3 separate regions of the Homo sapiens genome follow, and regions 2 and 3 are each linked to region 1. The links are contacts of gene promoters, found by promoter capture Hi-C in blood cells and fetal thymus (Javierre and others, 2016). All regions are on one chromosome and are shown on one strand. Each heading gives the region's core, a stretch centred on a gene start or on the middle of the fragment in contact. The rest is flanking DNA. Distances are from core to core; before and after follow the strand shown. Region 1 holds the start of GLG1 (golgi glycoprotein 1). Region 2 overlaps TERF2IP (TERF2 interacting protein). Region 3 overlaps KARS1 (lysyl-tRNA synthetase 1).

Region 1 (4,409 bases), core at 848-3,347:
CTACGCTTGCCTGACAGCCTGAGCTGGCCAGGTTCCCAGATTTATCTGTTTCTTGCTTCTTGGTGACTGAGATTTCAAGATAGCCATGTGTACTCCTCCCTATCTCTGGAGGCAATCTGTGGCTGTGGTTTCCTCAGTTCAGGCTGAAAGATAAGTAACTGATGGCTTATCTAGGATTGTCAATTTCTAGTTAAACTGGCTTAAAATAATCTCCCACTTGTCTGAACACATGCAGACTCAGCATTGAAAATTAATGGAGGCCAGGCGCAGTACCTCACGCCTGTAATCCTAGCACTTTGGGAGGCTGAGGTGGGCAGATCGCCTGAGGTTTGGGGTTCGAGACCAGCCTGGCCAACATGGCAAAACCCCGTCGCTACTAAAAATACAAAAATTAGCTGGGTGTGGTGGCACATGCCTGTAATCCCAGCCACTCGGAGGCTGAGGCAGGAGAACTGCTTGAACCCAGGAGGTGGAGGTGGCAGCTCCGAGCAGAGATCACGCCACTGCACTCCAGCCTGGGCAACAGAGTGAGATTCCGTCTCAAAAAAAAAAAAAAAAAATTAACATACGCTAGTGACATCTCAAGGACTTCTGGTGATGTGTCCAGCCTGCCTGACTGAAACTTACCTATGCCATGTGTTTGCTAATAAACATGGGGCTGCCTTAGTCAGTGCTCAAGGTTAGCAGCAGCCTCATGATCATTTTATGACAGTAGCAAAGGTGACCGTTGGTGGAGATGCCAACAAGCTCTCATTCCCCATGATAGAGGCCTGGGGTCAGCCACAGTGGGTAATTTGTACTCACAGAATATCTTCAGTCTCAGGAGCTCCTTTTGGGTTCCCTGAGCTCCTGACTTTTCAGGTTCTAGTTATGTCTAACTTGGTCTTGACTGCTCATTTGCGGGTCAGGACAGCAGAAGCTGTCTGTTTACTACAGTAGATGTAATTCGCATTTTTGGACACAATGACCAGTGGAGATTACACAACCCAAACTGCCCTCATTCCCCAACATGTGCATGGACAGAGTGGGATGAAAGTGCGCCAGGGTGGTGGGAAGCCCCAGGGATTCTGGTGGCTAGCCTAGCTGTCTACAGGATGGCAGAGTTCCTCTTGGGCAGCTCATTTAATCCCTCCACGCAGAACTGTTAACATCTCTGTGCCATTCTTCAGTTAAATGAGAACCTAACGCAGGCCTGATGCATGGCTCAGATTACACAGCGGATGTGAAGAGGCTTTGGGAACATATCCTCTCTCCTAAGGACAGGGAGGGGATGCTAGTGTGGGGTGCCTGCGGTGTTGCATGCAGGTCAATGAGAACAGTTACCGACACACAGACTTAACCCGAGTCCTCAAAGATGTGTTTTATTATTATTTTTTCATCCTTTAAACATGAATCTAAATGCTGGCTTAAAATCAGGATTCATGCATAAACGGCTTCCCAGTTTATTAACAATACTGGCTGTGACTTTTTGAGTTCAGTGTTGTGGGCCAGGCACTTAAATTATTATTTCGAATCTTGCCAATGGTACTTTACATTTGAGCTCTTGCGTACCCTGCCAGAGCAAGGATTATAACCTTAATTTTTTTTCTTACCCCAGAACTTATGCTCTTAACCCTATTCAATGCTGTCTCTCTCTTTGGCTAAGAAAGACTTCTGAGGCAGATGGAAGGAAGGAAGGAAGGAGGGAGCGATACAAGGAGAGGCTTTCCGATTCCGTAATACACCTGGTTGTGCAAAGTTCACCTCTACATATAAAGTTTTTGTTTTCCAAGTCATTGAACCGGCGACATATTCTACCGGCCATTTTGGTTGTGGCAACCCCAATTCCCTTGATTTTTTTTTTTGTGACAGCAAATGGAATTAGAGTAGGCCGCCCTGCCCGGGCTTTTTAAGAAACCCCAGCAACCCCCCCGGGTAAGGAGCGCCGCTCTCCCGCCCGCCGGTCCAGGGTGTGTGCGGTTTCCAGCACGGCCTCCTCCTTCGCCCCACTCTGGGTTCGCGGGTCGGCGCCGGCGGGGCGGGGCTCGGCAGGGCCACGCTGCCACGCCCAGCGTCTCCACCCCCTCATTTAAATACGCGGCGCCGGCGAGTGCGTCGAGCTCGCCGCGGACTCAAGATGGCGGCGTGTGGACGTGTACGGAGGATGTTCCGCTTGTCGGCGGCGCTGCATCTGCTGCTGCTATTCGCGGCCGGGGCCGAGAAACTCCCCGGCCAGGGCGTCCACAGCCAGGGCCAGGGTCCCGGGGCCAACTTTGTGTCCTTCGTAGGGCAGGCCGGAGGCGGCGGCCCGGCGGGTCAGCAGCTGCCCCAGCTGCCTCAGTCATCGCAGCTTCAGCAGCAACAGCAGCAGCAGCAACAGCAACAGCAGCCTCAGCCGCCGCAGCCGCCTTTCCCGGCGGGTGGGCCTCCGGCCCGGCGGGGAGGAGCGGGGGCTGGTGGGGGCTGGAAGCTGGCGGAGGAAGAGTCCTGCAGGGAGGACGTGACCCGCGTGTGCCCTAAGCACACCTGGAGCAACAACCTGGCGGTGCTCGAGTGCCTGCAGGATGTGAGGGAGGTGAGGAGGTGGGACGAAGCCGGGAGGGCCAGGCCTGGTGCGGGCCCGAGGGTGTTGCCGGCCTTGGAAGCCGCTGACGCCGGTCGGCTGCTTTCCTTGCTTCCTCTGTGCTGCACTCGCTCCTTCCCTCTTTGCTCCTCACTCCCAGGCGCTTTCAGGGAAAAGGATACCACTCCCACTCCTTCTTTCCCCCGCCCTTATTTCCCTCCCTGTTGCCGGGGTCTGGGACGAAAACCTGGGCTCCTGGCCGCAATCCGCCGAGGCCCAGAGCGTGTCTGTTCGCTCCTGTCTTTTGTGTGATGCTCTATGCAGAGTGTCTCCTCGCCGAAGATCAGTTTAGGATTTTGCCATCAGTTTCGACTAGGACAATTTGTGGCAAGCCATTTAAACATAAAAAAATGCCTGGCGTACTTAGGCTGTAAAGAATGATCTGTTTATTAGCAGTAGATGTAATTCGCAAATCCATATTTTTGGTGCTGAAATTAATGTATGCTTTGTTTTCTTCACTTCCTTTGGTCAGTTGTATTGAACCCCATGTTTAAGCTGTTAACTCCCAGTGACTTGGCGCCCCAAAGCTTGAAAAGTTGGGGAAGCGTTTGAAGCTGTGTTTGTGACTGGGTTATGGGATCTTGCCTTTCTGAGGTCTGAATGTGATTTTAACAGTATCTCTTAATGAAATCTACATTTGTCGTTGCTTGGTGTGATTCAGTTGAGTGACATTGATAATTTATAATCAAGTGACATTGATAATTTATAATCTAGGTTTAATGCTGCAGACCATAATGACAATTCTCAAAGTTTGGGAGCAAATCTGACAGTAGTAACTTTTTCCAGAGGTGTAGGTATATAAAATTAGCCCTAAAGGTGGACAAATAGAATGAAGCTACCACTTGATACTGTTTTTGGTTTTTTTTTTAAATATCAGATTTGTTTAAGGCGTTCAAGCTATAGCAAGACCACTTGCTTGTAGAAATTTGCTTCTCTTGGCATTTCCCCCCTTCATCTCGTGTTCTAGTATTCTATACAAAAGCAATTCAGATAGAGGAAAAGACATACATAAGCAGGAGACAGAAAGAAAGGAAGTTTCCAGAGCCCCTAGAAATGTGAGGCCTTACCTGACTTCTCATCTTCAGCTTAACGACTAGAGGGATAGTCCTCTGGTAGATACAGCTAATATTCCTAACTCTGTCGAACTTTTTGGAATTTTCTTTTCGCTCTTTGAGGACACATAATAGATGTCGTTTCATCAAACTAGGATCCTAATACTGGTGACCAAACAATTAGTAGTAGTTTGTGGTAGAAACAGCACATTATTAGGGAAAGTGGCAAAAAGTGGCCTATTCAAGGAGTGTATATATCCTTCATGTGTATTCCGGACATTTGGAAACCTCCACTTAAAGGAGGCAGTTTTATGCTCCAGAGGAGGAAAGGCGTCATATAAATTGGAAATGGGGGTTTTGGGGGGTTGGGGGGAGGTGGAGGGACCAAATTTCCAATTTAATGTTTTTTCCTCCAGTTTTTACATACAGAAATAATGAAGGAAGAGTACTGTGAACACCTATGTGTATTCTTCAGGAGGTGGAGTTATTTTTAAACTTCTTTTCTTTTTTTTGAGATGGAGTCTCACTCTGTCGCCAGGCTGGAGTGCAGTGGCTTGAACTTGGCTCACTGCAACCTCCACCTCCCGGCTTTAAGCAATTCTGCCTCAGCCACCTGAGTACCTGGGACTACAGGCGAGCGCCACCACGCCCAGCTAATTTTTGTATTTTTAGTAGAGACAGGGTTTCACCATGTTGGCCAGGATGGTCTCGATCTCCTGACCTTGTGATCTGCCAGCCTCGGGCTCCCAAAGTGC
Region 2 (4,409 bases), core at 533-3,032, 1.0 Mb before region 1:
TCAAAGTACACAAAAAGCTAAATTTGCTTGATAAAAAAAATTACTATAAGTAGCTGGGCATGATGGCACATGCCTGTAATCCCAGTTACCCAGGAGGCTGAGGCAGAAGAATTGCTGGAACCTGGGAGGTGGAGGCTACAGTGAGCTGAGATGGCACCACTGCACTCCAGCCTGGGTGACAGAGTGAGACTCCACCTCAAAAAAATACAAAAAGCGGTGGCTCACGCCTGTAATCCCAGCACTTTGGGAGGCCAAGGCGGGCGGATCACGAGGTCAGGAGATCGAGGCCATCCTGGCTAACACAGTGAAACCCCGTCTCTACTAAAAATACAAATAATTAGCCAGGCATGGTGGTGGGCGCCTGTAGTCCCAGCTACTCGGGAGGCTGAGGCAGGAGAATGGTGTGAACCCAGGAGGCGGAGCTTGCAGTGAGCCAAGATCGCACCACTGCACTCCAGCCTGGGCGACAGAGCCAGACTCTGGCTCAAAAAAATAGAAAAAACAATTACTATAAACTTTTTGAAAAATATATTGACATTAAAGTACTCAAAGTGGGATGCTTTATACTGTTTATACAACTGTCCCTATTCTACCCAATTTTTCTCCCTTTCCCCCTCAACTTGTCCTGCCAAAAACTAAAAGCTTTGTGAAGCAAAAGCTTCAGGGCAACATGTCTGAAGCCCAGATCAGTCCCATTTTCCATTTTCCCTTTCCATCTTGAACTCCTCTCTCACTTTCCTGAGCCCCAGGTAGATGAAAAAGGTGTACAGGATAACCAGTTTCAAAGAAGAATGAAGGTAGGGAAAAAAATAATGAGTAAATCTAGTTAACATACCACAACCTCCTCAAACTCCCGGGTGGCTTCCACAAGCATCTTTTTGACTGCTTCTTCATTCTCCTGGATTTCTTCCTTCACATACTCTTCTTCAGGCAAATCTGGAGTTCTCTTATTCTGTGGTTCTGTTAAAGAGAAGAACAGCACAGATTAGCAATAGCCTCTTTTACATAAACCAAAAATATATTTGCTGTGTGAGCTCTGGGCCAGGAGTGAGCCTGCACTTTTTTTTTTTTTTTTTTTTTTTTTACTATCAGAAGACATCTGTTCTTGATTCAGAAGGGTAAAAAAAGCCTAGGACGTGCTCATTCACCCATTTCTATGCTTGCTTCTGAAAAGATGTACTATCCAAACAATGATACATTCTTAAACTCTGACATATAAAAATGCTCAAGTTTAATTCATTTTTTGCTTTGTAGTTACAGACTTTGCAAATTAATAAAAATGTGTCATAAATTGGGTTCCTTGGGAAGCAAATTCTGAGATGGAGATGGAAATTTAAAGAATTGGGAAGTGATTTTGGGAAAACCTTTGTGGAAGAGCAGGAGTGGGCAGAGAGAGAAGCTGACTTATCAAAGAGTTTCAACAAGACCTCAGCCAAAACCATGGGCAACTCTGGAGCTAGGAAGGCCCTTCAGAACTGACCAAGCTGGGGCCAAGGAGCAGACTTTGTAACTCTGCAAATATCAGTCACTGGATGGTGGCAGCCCTAAGAAGACAGGAGTTTGGGCAAGGCAGCTCTCCTAGCAGCCAAAGGCAGATCTGGGCCACGTACCACAATCCACCAATATACCATCTACAAAAAGGAGGGCCTCCTAAATTTAAACATCCTGTTCCTTTCCTTTACATTTTGTTCTCTGAAGATTTAACTCTGCTCCTTTTCTACTTACTAAAACATACTACAAAGGGGCAGCAAGAGGGAGTTTTTCGTGATGGAATTGTTCTAAATCCCAATGTGGGTGCTGGTTACAAAAATTTACCTATGTTAAAACACATATAACTGGAAAAGAGTACAGCAGTTCCTCAAAAAATTCAATATAATTTCATGATGACAACCCACAAGGAAAAAGAAAAAATTAAACATAAAATTACCATATGATCCAGCAATTGCATTTCTAGGCATATACCTAAAATAATGGAAAGCAGGGTCTCAAACAGATACTAGTTATACCCATGTTCACAGCAGCATTATTCAAAATAAACAAAAGATGGAAATAAGCCAAATGTCAATTGATACATTAATGGAAAAACAAAATGTAGTATATACATACAATGGAATATTATTCACCTTTAAAAAGGAATCAAATTCTGACACATGCTACAATATGGATGAACTTTGAAGATATTATGTAAAGTGAAATAAGCCAGACACAAAAGGGCAAATATTACATGATTCTACTTGTATGAGGTATCTAGAAATATTGAATTCATAGAAACAGAAGGCGGAATGGTTGTTTCCAGGGGCTAAGAGGAGGGAGAAATGGGGAATTAGTGTTTAATAGGCATGTTTCTGACCCCTAGAAGCAGAAAATAATAAAAGGCATGGAGTTTCAGTTTTAGAAAATGAGTAAGTTCTAGATACAGATGGTGGTGACAGTTGCCCAACAATGTGAATGCACTTAATAATGCCACTGAACAGAACACTTAAAAAACTATCTGAACTGTAAATTTTACGGTATATACATTTTACCACAATAAAAAATAAAGTTTTTAAAATGCATATAATTTTACACCATAAAAAGTTAATTTTACTGTATGTATTTAATAAAATTCTTAAATAGTAACTAAAAGAGGCTTATCTTTGAGAGATACATGCTAAAATAGATAAAATGATATGATGTCTGGCATTTGCTTCAAAACAGTCCAGGAAGTTGGGATGAAAAGTATAGATTTAAAAAATGCCATGAACTAAAATCAGGTGAAGGTGGGTGATGGGTATATGCAGTATAGTTCATTATACTATTCTGTATTTGTAAATGCTTGGAATTCTCCATAATAAAAAGTAAATTACTGTTCATTCACATAATGAAATACAGTGCAATCAATTAGAAAAGAATGAGGAAAAGCTTTGTGCAGACACACAAACACTTCAAGATAAATAATTAAGTTTAAAAAAAGTAAACCACAGATTAAGTTGATGTCTAGTGTGCTAGTATTACTATGAGCAAAGGGGACATGCAACAGACAAGAGACGGTAATAGAGGCTGCCCCTAGGAAAGGACCCAGGGAAAAGGGTATGTAAATAGGGAGACTGCCTTTTCAGTATGTACCCATTTGTACTCTGAGTATATCTACGGGATAAATTCCTAGAACAAAACTGCCATGTTTAAGGGAATATACGTTATAAATGTCATCAGATATTGTCAAAATGCCCCCCAAAGAAATTGTATCAATTTCTATTAACAACGTAGGAGTATACTTGTTTTCCCATACACTAACTTTGGATATTACCCATTGTATTGACTTTTGCCAATCTTATAGATAAAGTATAACATCTCCTTGCTCTGATTTAGTTAAAAAAAATAAATAACTTGGGGAGCTTTTGTTCTATTTTGTATAATGGAAGCTATCTCAATTCATCAAATAAATACAAAACAATTCCAACACACATATTTATTATCTCACAGGTCTCATGGGTCAAAGTATAGCTTATACTGACCCTAGGCTCAGGGTCTGATTTACTTTCTTTCTTCTTCTTTTTTTCTTTCCGAGATGGAGTCTGGTTCTGTCACCCAGGCTGGAGTGCAGGGGCTTGATCTCAGCTCATTGCAACCTACACCTCCCTGGTTCAAGCAATTTTCATGCCTCAGCTGCCTGAGTAGCTGCGATTACAGGCGCATGCCACCATGCCTGGATAGTTTTTGTAGTTTTTAGTAGAGACGGAGTTTCATCATGTTGGCCAGGCTGGTCTCGAACTCCTGACCTCAAGTGGTCTGCCACCTTGGCCTCCCAAAGTGCTAGGATTACAGGCATGAGCCACCGCACTCGGTCTGATTTACTTTCATTTAATAACAGACTATTTCTTCATTTGTTTATCGGCCGCTTATTTATTTCCTTTTCTGGGAACTTCCTGTTCCATTTCCTTTTCTCATTTTTCTATTAGTTTTCTTTTTACTTAATGACTTCTTACTTAATGACAAAGAGCTCTTTAGACATTAAAGAAACTAAGTCTATTGCAGTGTATTGGGAATGTTTTTCCAGCATGCCCTCTGACTTTATTTATCATGAGAAGTTCTTAATTTTCAGGTAATCAAATATATAAAACTTTTTCTTTGTCTTTTTGGCTTCATAACTTATCACCATGCTAATATTTTTACTTTTTTTCTTCTGGCAAATCAGGCAGCATCCTGAACCACAAATGGTTCAGAGCAACTCCCACCATACTGATATATTCATTCATATCTTCTCTTACTCATTTTAGAATTTTTTAATTTTTACATTTAAATATCTGATTATCAAAAGATTACTTAGATGGGTAGGATGAATACAGCTTAATTTTGTCCCAAGTTCCAAATGGCTTGCCAATAGCCCCAACATCACGGATTTAAAAGCAAGTCCCAGACACAGCATGGTG
Region 3 (4,409 bases), core at 1,699-4,198, 1.0 Mb before region 1:
TTGCCAGTCCTGCTGAGTGTCCGATCACCTGCACACCAAGAGAGGTGTATTTGTCATTGCGGCCGACCCTGAGCAGCTCTCACTCCAGGCATTTATTTAGTATAGAATTAACAACAGAAGCTTTGAGTAAACACACTTGTGGATAATTAACATCGTAAGAGAGGAGTTCTAGGAATTATTAAAGTCCAGGTACCATGGTCTAAAGTAAATACCATTAGGGAGCAGTATCTTTGGTCAACCTCCCCCCAAGAGGGCCATCTGGCTGAAAGGTTAGTTAATGGAGGTAGGGTAAACAGACTTAACTGGGGAAGCCTCTATTTTCCGTAGTATTTACCCTATGACCTAATGCTGTACGGTAAGAACTGGCTGCCTTCAGCCTGTTCAGTTATTACAAGCTACGTAACCTTTCGGCCTTCCAAAAGGTTTGTGACTATTCCTTATAACTTTCCCCAATATTTCCCTTTAATATTTCTGCCACCATCCTGAGTGAATCCCAACATAGAGGAAGCTCACAGTCCCCAGGAGGATCAGAGAATCAGGCTTGGAAACTATACAACTAGGAATGATTCTGAGTCATATTAGAATGGGCTGTTCTCATGGAGAACCCAGTGTATTTTCCTAGTAGGCACAGTTACTACAGCTCATAATCCTGGCACTAGGCACAAGTCATTGCCGCTAGGACCTCTGCAATCTAAAAGCTACGTGTGACTGGCCCCCTTCACCAGAATGAATTCTATGCAATACCCACATCTTTTGTTAGTAGTTTCCATGCTGAAGTCTCACAAGTGTATCTGACTGGTGGAGCTTGGGTCACACGCCTGCAGCCTAACCCCAAGAGAGGCTGCTTCCTTGGGGAGGTTCAGACTCAATGATGGGGGATGCCCAAGACAGGAAGAGTATCGAGAAGTCCTAGGCAGCCAAAAAAGGGGTAACTATCCACACTACAAGGGTATAAAGAGAGCAGGGTGCTTGGCAATTTGACCAGAGACCTGAGAGTATACCTAACCTGTGAAAACCAAGTTACGGCTTTTGGAGACTGAAACTTCCCAGAGCTGTTAATACAAGATTAGCTGTCATGGGGCCGGGCGCGGTGGCTCATGCCTGTAATCCCAGCACTTTGGGAGGCGGAGGCAGGCAGATCACCTGAGGTCGGGAGTTCGAGACCAGCCTGACCAATACAGAGAAACCCTGTCTCTACTAAAAATACAAAAAAATTAGCCAGGCGTGGTGGCACATGCCTGTAATCCCAGCTACTAGGGAGGCTGGGGCAGGAGAATTGCTTGAACCTAGGAGGCGGAGGTTGCGGTGAGCTGAGATCTTGCCATTGCACTCCAGCCTAGGCAACAAGAGCAAAACTCCATCTCAAAAAAAAAAAGATTAGCTGTCATGACCGTGGCCATGTGTTGTTGTTAGATGCTTGTGGTTGGTGGCATCGACCGGGTTTATGAAATTGGACGCCAGTTCCGGAATGAGGGGATTGATTTGACGCACAATCCTGAGTTCACCACCTGTGAGTTCTACATGGCCTATGCAGACTATCACGATCTCATGGAAATCACGGAGAAGATGGTTTCAGGTGACTCCTGCTCTCTCTCATACTCATCGGGTGGTTGGTATGCTGCTTTCAGAGGAGGGCTGCCTGGATTTCATTCCCGCTAAATAACAGGTTTCTCTCCCAGGGATGGTGAAGCATATTACAGGCAGTTACAAGGTCACCTACCACCCAGATGGCCCAGAGGGCCAAGCCTACGATGTTGACTTCACCCCACCCTTCCGGCGAATCAACATGGTAGAAGAGCTTGAGAAAGCCCTGGGGATGAAGCTGCCAGAAACGAACCTCTTTGAAACTGAAGGTAAAGTGACAACACTCACTCCTCCGTTGTAAGGCCCTCCTTCCTGTTCAGCTCTGAATTTGATTGGGTCAGAGCTAGAATTTCCCACACTATTCTCTTTATGTACATTTTTACTTGGCTAGTGTGATGTCTCCTGCCCTAACTTTTGCATTTGTGTCCCAGAAACTCGCAAAATTCTTGATGATATCTGTGTGGCAAAAGCTGTTGAATGCCCTCCACCTCGGACCACAGCCAGGCTCCTTGACAAGGTGAGAAGGCCCTGCCTTCTTGTACATGTCCTCATCTGGTGCTGAATGGTTCCCTCTTCCCTGGGAAAATGAACCCCACTGGGGAGAGTTCATTTCTGCAGCTTCACAGGAAAACCCTAGAGAGAGAACAAGAGAATTAACAGACTTTTAACTGTCATACTAAGCTCTGTGCCAAATAATTTATGTGTGTGATCTCAGTTAATCCCGTCCAGCTTTTAAAAAGCTATAGGGTAGGGTGGGCATGGTGGCTCACACCTGTAATCCCAGCACTTCAGGAGGCCGAGGCAGATGAATCACCTGAGGTCAGGAGTTCGAAACCAGCCTGGCCAACATGGTGAAACCCTGTCTCTACAAAAAATCCAAAAATGAGCTGGGTATGGTGGCGGGCACCTGTAATCCCCGCTATTCAGGAGGCTGAGGCACGAGAATCACTGGAACCAGGATGCGGAGGTTGCAGCAAGCCGAGATCATGCCACTGCACTCCAGCCTGGGCGACAGAGCGAGACTCCATCTCAATAATAATAATAATAATAATAATAAATAAATAAAAAGCTATAGGATAAACCCATCTGGATGGGAGCTGAGATCTTCTGTCTGGGCTGGGACGATCAAATACTATTCAGAAATGGTGACTGACTCTGCTTTGCTTTCTCATTAAGCTTGTTGGGGAGTTCCTGGAAGTGACTTGCATCAATCCTACATTCATCTGTGATCACCCACAGATAATGAGCCCTTTGGCTAAATGGTAAGATTCCAGTTACCTATTGCTGCATAACAGCCCCAAAACTTAGTGGTGTTAACAATTTATTGTCAAGATTTTGTGGTTTGACTGGTGGTCTTTCTGCTGGGTGGTGTTGACCAGGGTAACCCAAGTGGCTTTTTTTCAACTGGGGATTCTGCCAGGGCACTTTGGTTCTCCTCCACGTGGTCACTCCACATACGATCTTATCCTCCAGGGCCTCTTCATGTGGCCTGTCTGGCAGCACAGCCTGGGCTTCCCTTCAGCATGGTGGTTGGGCTCTAAGGGGAAGCTTCCAAAAGAACAGACCTCATTGTGCAAACACGTATCAAGCCTCTGGTGATAACCCATTGGCCAAACCAAGACATGTTGCCAGCGCAGAGTCCAGGTGAAGGAGACTACACATGGGCATGAATGCAAGAGGTGTGGTCCATTTTAACAGTCTGCCCGCTGGCCTGTTAGGAAGATCATTAAACCTTCCTGGTCTCTCTCACCCTCCTCACCGTTGTACCAAATGATTTGTTGCTGAGACTGCATGCAGGCTTCTGACTGCAATCAGTAACACTTTTGAGTCCACTAGAATTCAATTATTGTATTAGATGTTTGATCGTTAGACCAACCTGGCCAATATGGCGAAACCCTGTCTCTACTAAAAATACAAAAATTAGCCAGGCATAGTGGCATGGGCCTGTGATCCCGGCTACTCAAGGCTGAGGCAGGAGAAGTGCTTGAACCCAGGAGACAGAGGTTGCAGTGAGCCGAGATCACACCACTGCACTCCAGCCTGCGTGACAGAGCGAGACTCCGTCTCAAAAAAAAAGAAAAAACAAAATTTAGCTCATTAGGGGCCTCTATATTCAGCCTCCTCTTTGGTCTCCTGTCCCTAGGCACCGCTCTAAAGAGGGTCTGACTGAGCGCTTTGAGCTGTTTGTCATGAAGAAAGAGATATGCAATGCGTATACTGAGCTGAATGATCCCATGCGGCAGCGGCAGCTTTTTGAAGAACAGGCCAAGGTGAGAAAGGGGACTGTGAGCAGAAGCTGTGCCAACTCACCAGGAAATACCAGCCTTAACCCTGATCTGTGTCAGCGTATACGTTCTTGGTGACTTCAGAAGTGAAAGATAAAGCCATAGGCTTGCTGGAGGAGTCACATTTCAAGATGGTGACTTCATCTGGTATTGAGTCTGTCGTACATAAGAGGAACTTCATTATTAATCTCCGTATGGAAAGCGTGACGCTTGCCTTGAAAATACACTTGCCAAGCAAGAACATTATTTTCTTAGATTGTACATGTATTAAGGTGGCTTAGGGCTGGGAGGTAGGTAGAGATGAATGGAGAAGACAGAACCCCCACAGGCTGCCTGCAGCAGGTGTTGACAGGGCTGTTTTCAGGAAATGGGAGAAAGACTCTTGTAATTGTCACAGTCTCTGAGAATTAACCTGTTTGGAGTCCCAGAGCCCCAAGCAGCAGAAGGGTTTTCTTTCAGAGAAATTTGTATGTGTTCTGAGGTCGATTTCATCAGTCCTGACCTCCAGGTCTTTGAAAGAAACGGCTGCATCTTGGAGTT

What was found. Contacts are between HindIII fragments. The CHiCAGO score rates a contact against its expected background, and 5 or more counts as called.
Region 2: a fragment that was not itself captured here is called in contact with the fragment with the promoter of GLG1 in region 1 in 1 of 17 cell types (monocytes); the score reaches 5.6 in monocytes.
Region 3: a fragment that was not itself captured here is called in contact with the fragment with the promoter of GLG1 in region 1 in 2 of 17 cell types (total CD8 T cells and activated CD4 T cells); the score reaches 7.4 in total CD8 T cells.

The regions. Positions count from the first base shown.
Region 1 is chr16:74,604,802-74,609,210 of GRCh38, reverse strand. GLG1 (golgi glycoprotein 1) reads left to right here and starts at 2,097. Exons shown (of 26, transcript NM_001145667.2): 1 at 2,097-2,554. The coding sequence starts at 2,117. RefSeq lists silencers at 1,927-2,116, 2,347-2,526. The HindIII fragment of the contact is 13,128 bases long and covers 1-3,131 here.
Region 2 is chr16:75,650,824-75,655,232 of GRCh38, reverse strand. TERF2IP (TERF2 interacting protein) reads right to left here. Exons shown (of 3, transcript NM_018975.4): 2 at 836-960. Among named protein-coding and RNA genes, the nearest start is that of TERF2IP, 5.3 kb to the right of the region's middle. The HindIII fragment of the contact is 2,243 bases long and covers 661-2,903 here.
Region 3 is chr16:75,628,860-75,633,268 of GRCh38, reverse strand. It overlaps KARS1 (lysyl-tRNA synthetase 1), which reads left to right. Exons shown (of 14, transcript NM_005548.3): 8 at 1,414-1,576; 9 at 1,680-1,853; 10 at 2,016-2,101; 11 at 2,761-2,846; 12 at 3,728-3,854. Among named protein-coding and RNA genes, the nearest start is that of ADAT1, 7.8 kb to the right of the region's middle. RefSeq lists an enhancer at 2,600-3,799. The HindIII fragment of the contact is 372 bases long and covers 2,763-3,134 here.